Regions from separate parts of the Homo sapiens genome. Here region 2 is linked to region 1. The links are contacts of gene promoters, found by promoter capture Hi-C in human tissues and cell types (Jung and others, 2019). All regions are on one chromosome and are shown on one strand. Each heading gives the region's core, a stretch centred on a gene start or on the middle of the fragment in contact. The rest is flanking DNA. Distances are from core to core; before and after follow the strand shown. Region 1 holds the start of ZNF587 (zinc finger protein 587). Region 2 overlaps LOC124904780 (a long non-coding RNA gene).

Region 1 (5,747 bases), core at 210-2,709:
CAATTTATTTATTTTTTATTTTTTATTTTTTTTGAGACAGAGTCTCACTCCTGTTGCCCAGGCTGGAGTGCAATGGCATGATCTCGACTCATCGCAACCTCCACCTCCAGGGTTCAAGTAATTCTCCTACCTCAGCCTCCCGAGTAGCTGGAATTGGAGGCATGCAGCACCATGCCTGGAAAATTTTGTACTTTCAGTAGAGACACGGTTTCTCCATGTTGGCCAGGCTGGTCTCGAACTCCCGACCTCAGGTGATCCACCTGCCTTGGCCTCCCAAAGTGCTGGGATTACAGGTGTGAGCCACCATGTCTGGCCTTTATTTTTATTTTTTGTGGGTATATAGTAGTGTATATATTTGTAGATTACATTAGATATTTTGATGTAGCCATGCCATATGTGATAATCACATAGGGTAAATGGGGTCTCAGTCACCTCAACATTTATCCTCTGTATTATAAACAGTCCAGTTATACTCTTTTAGTTATTTTTAAATATATAATTAAATTATTTTGACTATAGCCACCCTGTTATGGTAGCAAATATTAGGTCTTATTCATTTTTGCTCACTGTTTTTTGTACCCATCCTGTCATCATGTCTTATGGAGAATTTTCTTTTGTTCCCAACAAAACAATGAAACTCGCAAAACTGACTGTAATGATTCAGTCTACGTGAATTTAAAGAGCAATCAATACTTAATGTTCTCAGCTCTGAGTGCACACATTGTAAGTCTGAATGATGCCAATGATATGGCCACTTAGATAAGTAAAGTTTGGGAGCATCTCAAATAGTATTTTTATTCTCTGGGTGCAGGATGAGCTTCCTAGAGTCTGATGTGATACCTATTTGATGCTTTTACAAAGAATCAATAATCTTCCTCCTTTGAGGTGTGAGCAGGGCTTTCCAGCAGCCCTCAGAATGTAACATGGTCTGCATTCGGTTTGCTCTTGGAGGATACCACCATTGTTGGCTGAGAGCTCTGGGAAGTACTTTACCCAGAAGGCGCTAGTTGCAAGGCCCAGGATGAGGGATTTCTGGGCATGCTTGTCAGGCCAGGGAGTACTGGGTTGGGACTGAGAAGGCACAAGAGGAGTAGTCATCTCTGCTCCCAAGTGGCAGGTCTGAGGCTCATAGGCACTGGCTGGGGTGATGCCTGCTCCACCCACAGTTGATGGCAGCAGCCACACTGAGGGACCTAGCTCAGGTAAATGCTGTGTATTACAGGCTTCACCCCAGCTAGAGTAATACAGGTAGAGGAACCAATAGGTACAAAGGCTTGGAGGTGCATCTGAGCCATGAACATTTCAGAACCTGGTAACCATGTTGTGTCATGGAAAGTGGGGAACTACATTACCCAGAAAGCTCTGCTTTAAACGACAGCCGGTCAGAGCCAGTGAGCACTCGGAAAGAAGGCATTTCCACGTGTGCACGTAACGTAAGGCCGAGACTTCCGGGGTCTCTAGTAGCGGCTGTGTATCGGCGATGCGGGTGTTTCCCCAGTTTGTGGCCCCTGAGTGCTGGGTGGGACCGCGGTGACTGAACCTAGAAGGTGGAGAGGAATCGTCCTCGGTGCCCAGAGGCGGCTCTGCAGCCCCGTGACGGCGACCACTGCTCCCGGGCCGTGCTTCCCCAAGTAGTCCGATGGCAGCGGCTGTGCCGAGGCGCCCAACTCAGGTAATTGTGGTGCCTTCTGTGCCCTCAGGTCACCCCATCGTCACCCAGGTCCTAAACCAGCGAGGGAGCGGCTCCTGCTCGTGGGTCTGTAGCCGGTACCCGGCGTAGGAACACTGAGGCGCTCACAGGAGGCCTCTCCTTGTAACCGTCCAGTGGGTTCACGTTGCCAGCTGCCTAGACAGAGCCGATTTATGAAGACTGGGGAATTGCGATGGAGAAATAGTAATTCACGCAGAGCCGTCCTGCTGTTCGGGAGACAGGAGTTTTATTATTCAAATCAGTCTCCCTGAGCATTCTGGGATCAGAGTTTTCAAAATTTGGCGGGTAGGGGCTTGGGAAGTGGGGAGTGCTGATCAGTCTGGTTGGAGATGGATTCATAGGGGGTTAAAGTGAGTTTTTCATGCTGTTTTCTGTTCTGGGTGGGATGGCAGAACTGATTGACCCAGATTACCGGTCTGTGTGTTGTCCGCTGATCCATCCAGTGCAGGATCTGCAAAATGCCCCAAGCACTGATCTTAGATATTGGGGAAACCAGCCCCACACCACCCAGCAGATACCCCGAGTCCTGCGGAGACAAAGGAGTTAGAAAGAGACAGAATACGCATTTAAAAGGCGGGTCCAGGTGGCCAGAGCATTGGAGGCTTCCTGGCGGCCCAGAGCTCTTGGGCTCCACCCAGTTTATTGGTTTACAAGCTCTTTGTTCTTATGGCTGATTGGAGGGGGAGGAAGCGATCAGGAAAAGGATTAATCAGTAAAGGAGAACTCGTGAGTCATTCCATAAGATGTAAAGCACTGGCCGTTTCTGTGAATTTCCTTGAACAAAGGCGTGTGTCTAAACTACTTAAGATCTTTAACTTAACTGAAACGGGTGGCTGCGGGTTTCAGGAGGAGCCAAGATGTTTGATTATGCTCCACTGCTTCAAGGGAGTGTGATCTCCCTGAGCAACCCATGGAATGCTGCTGAAGAGTTATGCTCTCGGGGCATAAAGACATGAAGGCAATAAGGAGACTTTTCTCCTCAGAGGCCGCCCATGGCTTCCCATGGGTGTCTCACACAGGGGAGACCAACTCAACTAGCACCCCAGAAACTCACATTAGGTTTTACAATAGTAAGGTTATCTTCAGGAGCAACTTGGGGAGGTTCAGACTCTTGGAGCCAGAAGCTGCATGACCCCTAAACCGTAATTTCTATTCTTGTAGCTAATTTGTTAGTCCTGCAAAGACAGGCTGGTCCCCAGGCAAGAAAGGGGTCTTTTCAGGAAAGGGCTATTATCAATTTTGTTTCAGAGTGAAACCATGAACTGAATTCTTTTCCAAAGTTAATTCAGCCTATGCCCAGGAATGAAAAAAGACGGCTGAAAGGTTGGAAGCAAGATGGAGTCGGTTAGGTCTGATTTCTTTCACTGTCATAATTTCGTCAGTTATAATTTTGCAAAGTCGGTTTCACCTGTTTCTGACACCAGTGGGATGCAGTGGGGAGAGTGACAGGCACAGGTAGGGGTGCAGGCAATGGCCTGCAGATGGACAGAGCTGGAAGGATGGAACCTGGGGTTCACAGGCATCTGTCAGGAACAACGTGTGAGATGGAGCTCTTCCTGGTAGAGCAAGCAGGCCAGGGGCTGTGCATTCATCATGAGGATTCTAGAAGCCATGGAGAGTTTTGAAGAAAGGAGGGACATGATCCAAATCCAGGCTTTTAAGAAGTTTCCCAAAGGCCAATCAAAGGAAGAACATCATAGAGAGAGAGGATGAGGACTTTGGGGCCTTGGGAGGTTGAATCCGTTTTGTAGATCACATAGATGGTAGAGATGACATTTTGCACTGAGAAAAGCAGGTCAGACAACCAGCCTTAGGGTTACCTGGTTCCAGGGACAAGAAAGGGTTCAGGGAGTCCTGAGCTTATCAAATCCTGTGACATGTTTGTAATGTCTGCCTTTCCCCTCAGGCACTCCTGGCTGCAGAAGCACTTAGGGAACCCACACAGGGAAGTGGAGGGTGTTCCATTCCCTCATTGGTCCTGACGCCATCTACAGGTTCTCTAGCTTGTGGTGTCCTGGGACTCTTAAGTGCCATTTTTTTCAGTCCTTTGATCCGAGGACCCTGGAGAATCTCTGAAGCCAGGATACCAAGTCCATGACAGGTTATATGGAGGTATTCCCATTTCTGTCAACCAATGTAAACACCCTTGTAAGATTAACCCAGGATTTGCTACCAGGTTGTGAAATGCTTAGAGATAAAACGGATCAAAGTCAGGAGGTGATATTACCACAGTTCTACCTGGCTACAGGCTTCATCTGGCTGGACCTTGTTGCATAGACTGTGGGTTGAGGGAAGAGGAAGAAAGGTCAGAGATAAGGCTCCTGCCATAATCCAGGTGAGGGTTAATGGATCAGATAAGTGGTAAATCACATGGGTCTGGATTCAGGATTCACTTTTTGTAAAGAGACAGCTAGGTTTTCTTTTTTTTTTCTTAACGTGGAATTTCAGTCTTGTTGCCCAGGCTGGAGTGCAATGGCGCAATCTTGGGCTCACTGGAGCCTCTGCCTCCCAGGTTCAAGCAATTCTCCTGCCTCAGCATTCAAGGTAGCTGGCATTACAGGCACCCACCATCATGCCCAGCTAATTTTTGTATTTTTAGTAGAGACGAGGTTTTACCATGTTGGCCAGGCTGGTCTCGAACTCCTGACCTCAAGTGATCGTCACATCTCGGCCTCCCAAAGTGCTGGGATTATAGGCATGGACCAATGCGCCCAGCCGAGACAGCTAGGCTTTTTTTTTTTTTTTTTTTTTTTTTTTTTTGAGACGGAGTTTCACTCTCTTGTCCAGCCTGGAGTCTAGTGGCACAATCTCAGCCCACTGCAACCTTCACCTCCTGGGCTCAAGTGATTCTCCTGCCTCAGCCTCCTGAGTAGCTGGGATTACAGGCATGTACCACCACACTCGGCTAATTTTTCTATTTTTAGTAAAGTCGGGGTTTCACCATGTTGGCCAGGCTAGTCTCAAACTCCTGACCTCAGGAGATTCGCTGGCCTCTGCCTCCCCAAGTGCTGGGATTATAGGCACGAGCCACCATGCCTTGCAGACAGCTAGATTTTCTAATGTGGATGATAGGAGCATGAAAGAGGAATCGGGCATGAGCCCAAGGTTTTTGATCTTAGCAGCTGTAACCATGCACACTGCTTCAGCTGAGATGACGTTGGTATTGACATAATATTCACTGTGGATATCCAGAGGGTTGTTTTGGCCATATGAAGAATCAGAGACCAATAAGTGGTGGCATCAAATCGATAACTAGACATACTGGATGGGGTATCTGGGAGGGTGTTGATACTGGAGACATCCAATATATGAAAGCTAATGAGTGAACTATGATTAGTTATGGGTCCATTTAGGAGGACATGCTTCAGATTATGGTGGTAAATCTTTTCAGGGGGCAGAAAGGTGTGATTACAGGCTGAGGACTGGATCTCTTACTTACGTCCTCAATTGATGTTATTGGGCTTCCTAAACACCTGAGAGGGTGTGAGTGACCATCATAACAGGACATTTAATACAGTAGAGTTTGGAAGGGGACATAGACATCCAAAGAGATAATAGAGAAGAGATAGATGCATGCAGAAGCACAGGAGTAATTCAGGGAAGATGACACTTAGGCCTGAGTTGGTGCCAAAGTTGTAACTTTTTTGTTTTTTTTTTTTTTTCAGATGGAGTTTCGCTCTTGTTGCCCAAGCTGGAGTGCAATGGTGCCATCTCGGCTCACTGCAACCTCCACCTCCTGGGTTCAAGCAATTCTCCTGCCTCAGCCTCCCAAGTAGCTAGTATTACAGGCACCTGCCACCACAGCAGGCTAATTTTTGTATTTTCGGTAGAGACAGGGTTTCACCATGCTGACCAGGCTAGTCTTGAACTCCTGACCGGGTGATCTGCCTGCCTCGGCCTCAAAGTGCTGGAATTGCAGGCGTGAGCCACTGTGCCTGGCCAGTTGTAACTATTTATCACTGTCTGGACTCATAAACATTTTGAGATGACTTTGGGAGTGCCTGGGGAGTTTCATTCAGCCTGGTGCATATGGGCA
Region 2 (5,515 bases), core at 2,542-5,041, 670 kb before region 1:
GGCGCGGTGGCTCATGCCTGTAATCCCAGCACTTTCGGAGGCCGAGGTGGGTGGATCACATGAGGTCAGGAGTTCGAGACCAGCCTGGCCAACATGGAGAAACCCCGTCTCTACTAAAAATACAAAAATTAGCCAGGCGTGGTGGCGGGCGCCTGTATCCCAACTACTCAGGAGGCTGAGGCAGGAGAATTGCTTTAACCCGGGAGGTGGAGGTTGCAGTGAGCCGAGATCGCGCCACTGCCACTCCAGCCTCAGCACCAGAGCAAGACTACGCCTCAAAAAAAAAAAAAAAAAAAAAAGGAATTCAGGCACAGCTGACCAGTATTAACATTAAAACAATTTTTTTTTAGTATCTTCATGCTAAAGGGGTAAGTAGAAATTGCATGTAGCCTCCCATCAGTTTATTCCAAATAGCAAACATTTACCAAGCCCTGAGTTATTAACTACGTATTTTCTTTTTGTAAACCTTACAATTGAGCAGGCAAGTAATAACATTATCTCCATATTTTTAATGTGAGGAAACTGAGGCCCAGGAAGACGTGTAATTTGCCCAATATCAGGTATTCAGTATATTGGAGATTTGAAGGACAAGTTATTTATTTTGAAAAATGTATACCTTTTCCAAAGTTCCAACAATAATTCAATGAACACATTTATTTTGCCCCAGAATTGCCAATGATGTTATGTCCTATAAGGAGGCACCTAAGTATACAGTTTGTCCATTTGGGAGATTTGGATTTTGACTACTTGGTTAAGATGGTATCTACTAGATCTCTCCACTCTTTCTTCTTTGTAATTAATAAGTAATCTGTGGGTCAATTCTTTGCAATGTCTGAATAATATTAAGTCCCCCCACTTCAGCCTCTAGTTTTAGCCTCTGTTGATGATTCTTCCCTGAATCTGTGATCACTGCTTGTGGGGATTCTATTTCTATTACTTCTTTACATTTTATACTTATAAGTTGACACTCCTGTAAAGAACTTTACCCATCCCATTCTTTTTTCTTTTCTTTTTTTTTGTTTTTGAGAAAGAGTCTCACTCTTGTCATCCGGGCTGGAGTGCAGTTGCGCGATCTAGGCTCACTGCAGCCTCCGCCTCCCGATTTCAAGTGATTCTCCTGTCTCAGCTTCCCAAGTAGCTGAGACTACAGGCGTGTGCTACCACACCCAGCTAATTTTGTTTTTTTTGGGTTTTTTTTTTGTTTTTGTTTTTGTTTTTTTTTAGTAGAGATGGGGTTTCACCATGTTGGCCAGGCTGGTCTCAAACTACTGACCTCAGGTGATCCACCCCCCTCGGCCTCCCAAAGTGTTGAGATTACAGGCGTGAGCCACCGCGCCCGGCCCACCTCAGGTGATCCACCCCTCTCAGCCTCCCAAAGTGTTGAGATTACAGGCGTGAGCCACCACGCCGGGCCCACCTCAGGTGATCCACCCCCCTCGGCCTCCCAAAGTGTTGAGATTACAGGCGTGAGCCACCGCGCCCGGCCCACCTCAGGTGATCCACCCCTCTCAGCCTCCCAAAGTGCTGAGATTACAGGCGTGAGCCACCGCGCCCGGCCCATCCCATCCCATCCATTTTAAGTTAGTTAATTATTTTAGAAGCCACATGGAGTGGATGATTTTTATCTGCGGCATTATAATCCATTTATCTCATTGTATTGGTGCTCACACTACCCAGCATTAGCCTCTCCAAACTCAAGTAGGCTTGACTTTCTTATTTCTATCACAGAGCTCCTGAAACCCTTGGAATTTCCTGTGTGTTGAAATGTCTTTTGTTATTTTTAATGACTTTTTGATCACATCTCAGTTTATACCAATGAGATGGCTTAGGGTGGAGACCCTAGACAGCCTCAAGATGAAGCTGGTCACCAGAAAGATTAGAGAGTTGGAACTTTCAGTCCTACCCACCAACCTCTGTGAAGTGGAAAGGGTGGGATGGCTTGACATGAAGCTCTATAAAAACTCTTGGACAACAAGATTTTAGCTTTCCAGATTGCTGAACACATTCAGTGTTCCTGGAGAGGGCATGGAAGCTCCACACCTCTTCTCACATACCTTGCCCTGTGTATCTTTTCTGACTGTTTGTTTGTATCCTTTGTGATATCTTTTATTATAAAACAGTAAACATAAGCAAAGTGTTTCCCCGAGTTCTATGAGCCATTCTAGAAATGAGTTCTAGGGGGTTGTGGGAACCCCAATTCTAATGTAGTTGGTCAAAAGCACAGGCCACAACCAGGTGATTGTGACTGGCATCTGAAGTGAAGGGCAATTCTGTGGGACTTAGTCCTCAACCTATGGGATGTGACACTTCCTTCAAGTAGATAGTGTCAGATTTGAATTATAGGACACCTACTGGTGTCTCCTGGAAAACTGGGATGGATGAAAAAACCTCCACTCATTTGGTCACACAAATGTTCTGTTTTGAGTGAGTTGAAAGAAAAGAACAGTTAGTTTTTTTGCTTTAGATGTGGTGTCAGAAATGGGATGTTGAATGATTGTGTAAGAGTGGGAGCACTTGGCAGAGAAGTCAAAGATGGCGGCTGTAGCTGCTGTTCGCTGGCTGGGGCTCTGCAGCAGGCTTGACCAGCCACTGACGGGTCAGCCAGCAGGTCTATGTGAACAAGCACACAGCTGAGATTTTATTCTGGAAGTGCAACCCTCTCAAATATTGAAGGAACTGATATAACAGGGATTGAAGAAGTAGTAATTCCAAAAAAGAAAACTTGGGATAAAGTAGCCGTTCTTCAGGCTCTTGCATCCACAGTAAACAGGGTTCCCACGGCTGTACCTTGCGTGTTTCAAGATAATCCTTACCTCATACCAACATCCTCTTCAGAATCTCGTTCATTTTTACTGGCAAAGAAATCCGGGGAGAATACGGCCAAGTTCATTATTAATTCATACTCCAAATATTTTCAGAAAGACATAGCTGAACCTCATACACTGTGTTTAATGCCTGAGTACTTTGAACCTCAGATCAAAGACATAAGTGAAGCCACTCTCAAGGAATGAATCAAGCTCAGAAAAGTCAAAGTCTCTGTGGACATGTTTGATGAGCTTTTGCAAGCAGGAACCACTGTGTCTCTTGTAACAACATATAGTCTCTTGGATTTATTGTGTTACTATGGTGACCAGGAGCCCTCAACTGATTATCAGTTTCAACAAATTGAACAGTCAGAAGAATTGGAAGAGGAAAATAATAAGAGGTCTAGGAGGAAAGCTGGTGATCAATTTGGAGTTACCTGGTGAGCACAAAACAACGCTGAGAGAATGTTTTCTCTAATGCCAGGGAAAAATGCACATTCCTATTGCACAGTGATCCGAGGAATGGTGAAGCATCAAGCTTATGAGCAGGCATTAAACCTGTACACTGAGTTACTAAACAACAGACTCTGTGCTGATGTATACACATTTAATGCAGTGATTGAAGCAACAGTATTGGTGATAAATGAGAAATTTGAGGAAGAATGGAATAATATACTGGAGCTGCTAAGACAAATGGTTGCACAGAAGGTGAAACCAAATCTACAGACTTTTAATACCATTCTGAAATGTCTCCGAAGATTTTATGTACTTGCAAGATTGCCAGCCTTACAGATTCTATGTGAAATGAAAGCCATCAGACTAGAACCCTCGCTTGCAACATATCACCATATTATTCAGCTGTTTTATCAGCCTGGAAACCCTTCAAAGGGATCATCTTTCATCATCTATGATATAATGAATGAATTAATGGGAAAGAGATTTTCCCCCAAAGGACCTGGATGATGATAAGCTTTTTCAGTCAGCCATGAGAGTATCTTCATCTCTCAGAAATCTAGAACTTGCGTACCAAATACATGGCTTTTTTTTTTTTTTTTTTTTTTTTTTTTGAGAGAGAGAGTCTCGCTCTGTCACACACGCTGGAGTGCAGTGGTGCAATCTCGCCTCACTGCAAGCTCTGCCTCCCGGGTTCACGCCATTCTCCTGCTTCAGCCTCCCGAGTAGCTGGGACTACAGGTGCCCACCACCACGCCTGGCTAATTTTTTTTGTATGTTTAGTAGAGATGGGGTTTCACAGTGTTAGCCAGGATGGTCTCGATCTCCTGACCTCATGATCCGCCCGTCTCGGCCTCCCAAAGTACTGGGATTACAGGCGTGAGCCACTGCACCCGGCTACATGGCCTTTTAAATACCAGAGACAACTGAAAATTCATTGGACCTGATAAACGGCATAATTCCTATTATTCCATGTTCTTCAATTTGATTTGTCTAATGGAACGAATTGATGTCACCTTGAAGTGGTATGAGGACCTGATACCTTCAGCCTTCTTTCCCCACTCCCAAATGTTGATAGATCTCCGAGCATTGGATGTGGCCAACTGGCTGGAAGTGATTACTCAAATTTGGAAAGATAGTAAAGAATATAGTCACACTTTCTGCAACAACCTGAGAGAAGAGATCCTGACACTCATGGCAATGGATAAGCACCCACCAGAGCTTCAGGTAGCATTTGCTGACTGTGCTGCTGATATCAAATCTACGTATGAAAGCCAGCCTGTCAGACACACTGCTCTGAATTGGCCAGCTATCTGTCTCAACTGTAGAGCTGTCTTTTTTTTTTTTTTTTTTTTTTTTTGGGACGGAGTTTCGCTCTTGTGGCCCAGGCTGGCGTGCAATGGCATGGTCTCGGCTCACTGCAACCTCTGCCTCCGAGGTTTAAGTGATTCTCCTGCCTCAGCCTCCTGAGTAGCTGGGATTACAGGCGTCCACCACTATGCTGGCTAATTTTTGTCTTTTTAGTAGAAACAGGGTTTCACCATGTTGGCCAGGCTGTCTCAAGCTCCTGACCCCAGGTGATCCACCTGCCTCAGCCTCCCAAAGTGCTGGGATTACCTACATGAGCCACTGCGCTCAGCCAGCTGTCCTCTTTTTAATGGCTGGGAGAATCCAGGAAGCCTGGAAAATGTTGGGGCTTTTTAGGAAGCATAATAAGATCCCTAGAAATGAGTTGCTGAATGAGTTTATGGACAGTGCAAGAGTGTCTAACAGCCCCTCCCAGGCCACTGAGGTAGTAGAGGTGGCTCAGCTTACCTATTTGTGAGGGCCTCACCCAGAGAGTAATGACTGACTTTGCAATCAACCAGGAACAAAAGGAAGCCCTAGGCAACTTCACTGCATTGACCAGTAACAGTGATACTGACAGCAGCAGTGACAGCGACAGTGACACCAGTGAAGGCAAATGAAAGTGGAGATTCGGGAGCAGCAATGGCCTCAGCGCAGCTGCTGGAATCACACCTGAGAGCGAGATATGCTAATATTTAACACTGTTACAAAGAAGACAAGATACAGATTGGGTGAATTTGTTACTGTGAGATACAGTCAGTACACAGCTGATTTATGTAGATTTAAGCTCCTAATTTGCAACTTAATAACTGTCTATTAATACACCATTAAAGGTTTAGCATTTAAGTAGCAACATGGCCGTTTTCAGGCCAGGCGCAGTGGCTCACGCCTGTAATCCCAGCATTTTGGGA

The links. The method cuts DNA at HindIII sites, captures the fragments that hold promoters and counts their contacts. A contact is called where the count stands out against the background at its distance.
Region 2: a fragment that was not itself captured here is called in contact with the fragment with the promoter of ZNF587 in region 1 in 1 of the 25 tissues and cell types used here (hippocampus).

What each region holds. Positions count from the first base shown.
Region 1 is chr19:57,848,400-57,854,146 of GRCh38, forward strand. It overlaps ZNF587 (zinc finger protein 587), which reads left to right and starts at 1,460. Exons shown (of 3, transcript NM_032828.4): 1 at 1,460-1,672. The coding sequence starts at 1,640. LOC124904782 (a long non-coding RNA gene) reads right to left here. Exons shown (of 2, transcript XR_007067358.1): 2 at 1,916-2,162. RefSeq lists enhancers at 1,058-1,167, 1,238-1,297, 1,468-1,707, 1,758-1,847, 1,902-3,101. The HindIII fragment of the contact is 32,917 bases long and covers 1-5,747 here.
Region 2 is chr19:57,172,699-57,178,213 of GRCh38, forward strand. The region is part of intron 1 of LOC124904780 (a long non-coding RNA gene); the gene reads left to right. It also overlaps the pseudogene LOC100132009. Among named protein-coding and RNA genes, the nearest start is that of DUXA, 8.0 kb to the left of the region's middle. The HindIII fragment of the contact is 5,158 bases long and covers 1,213-5,515 here.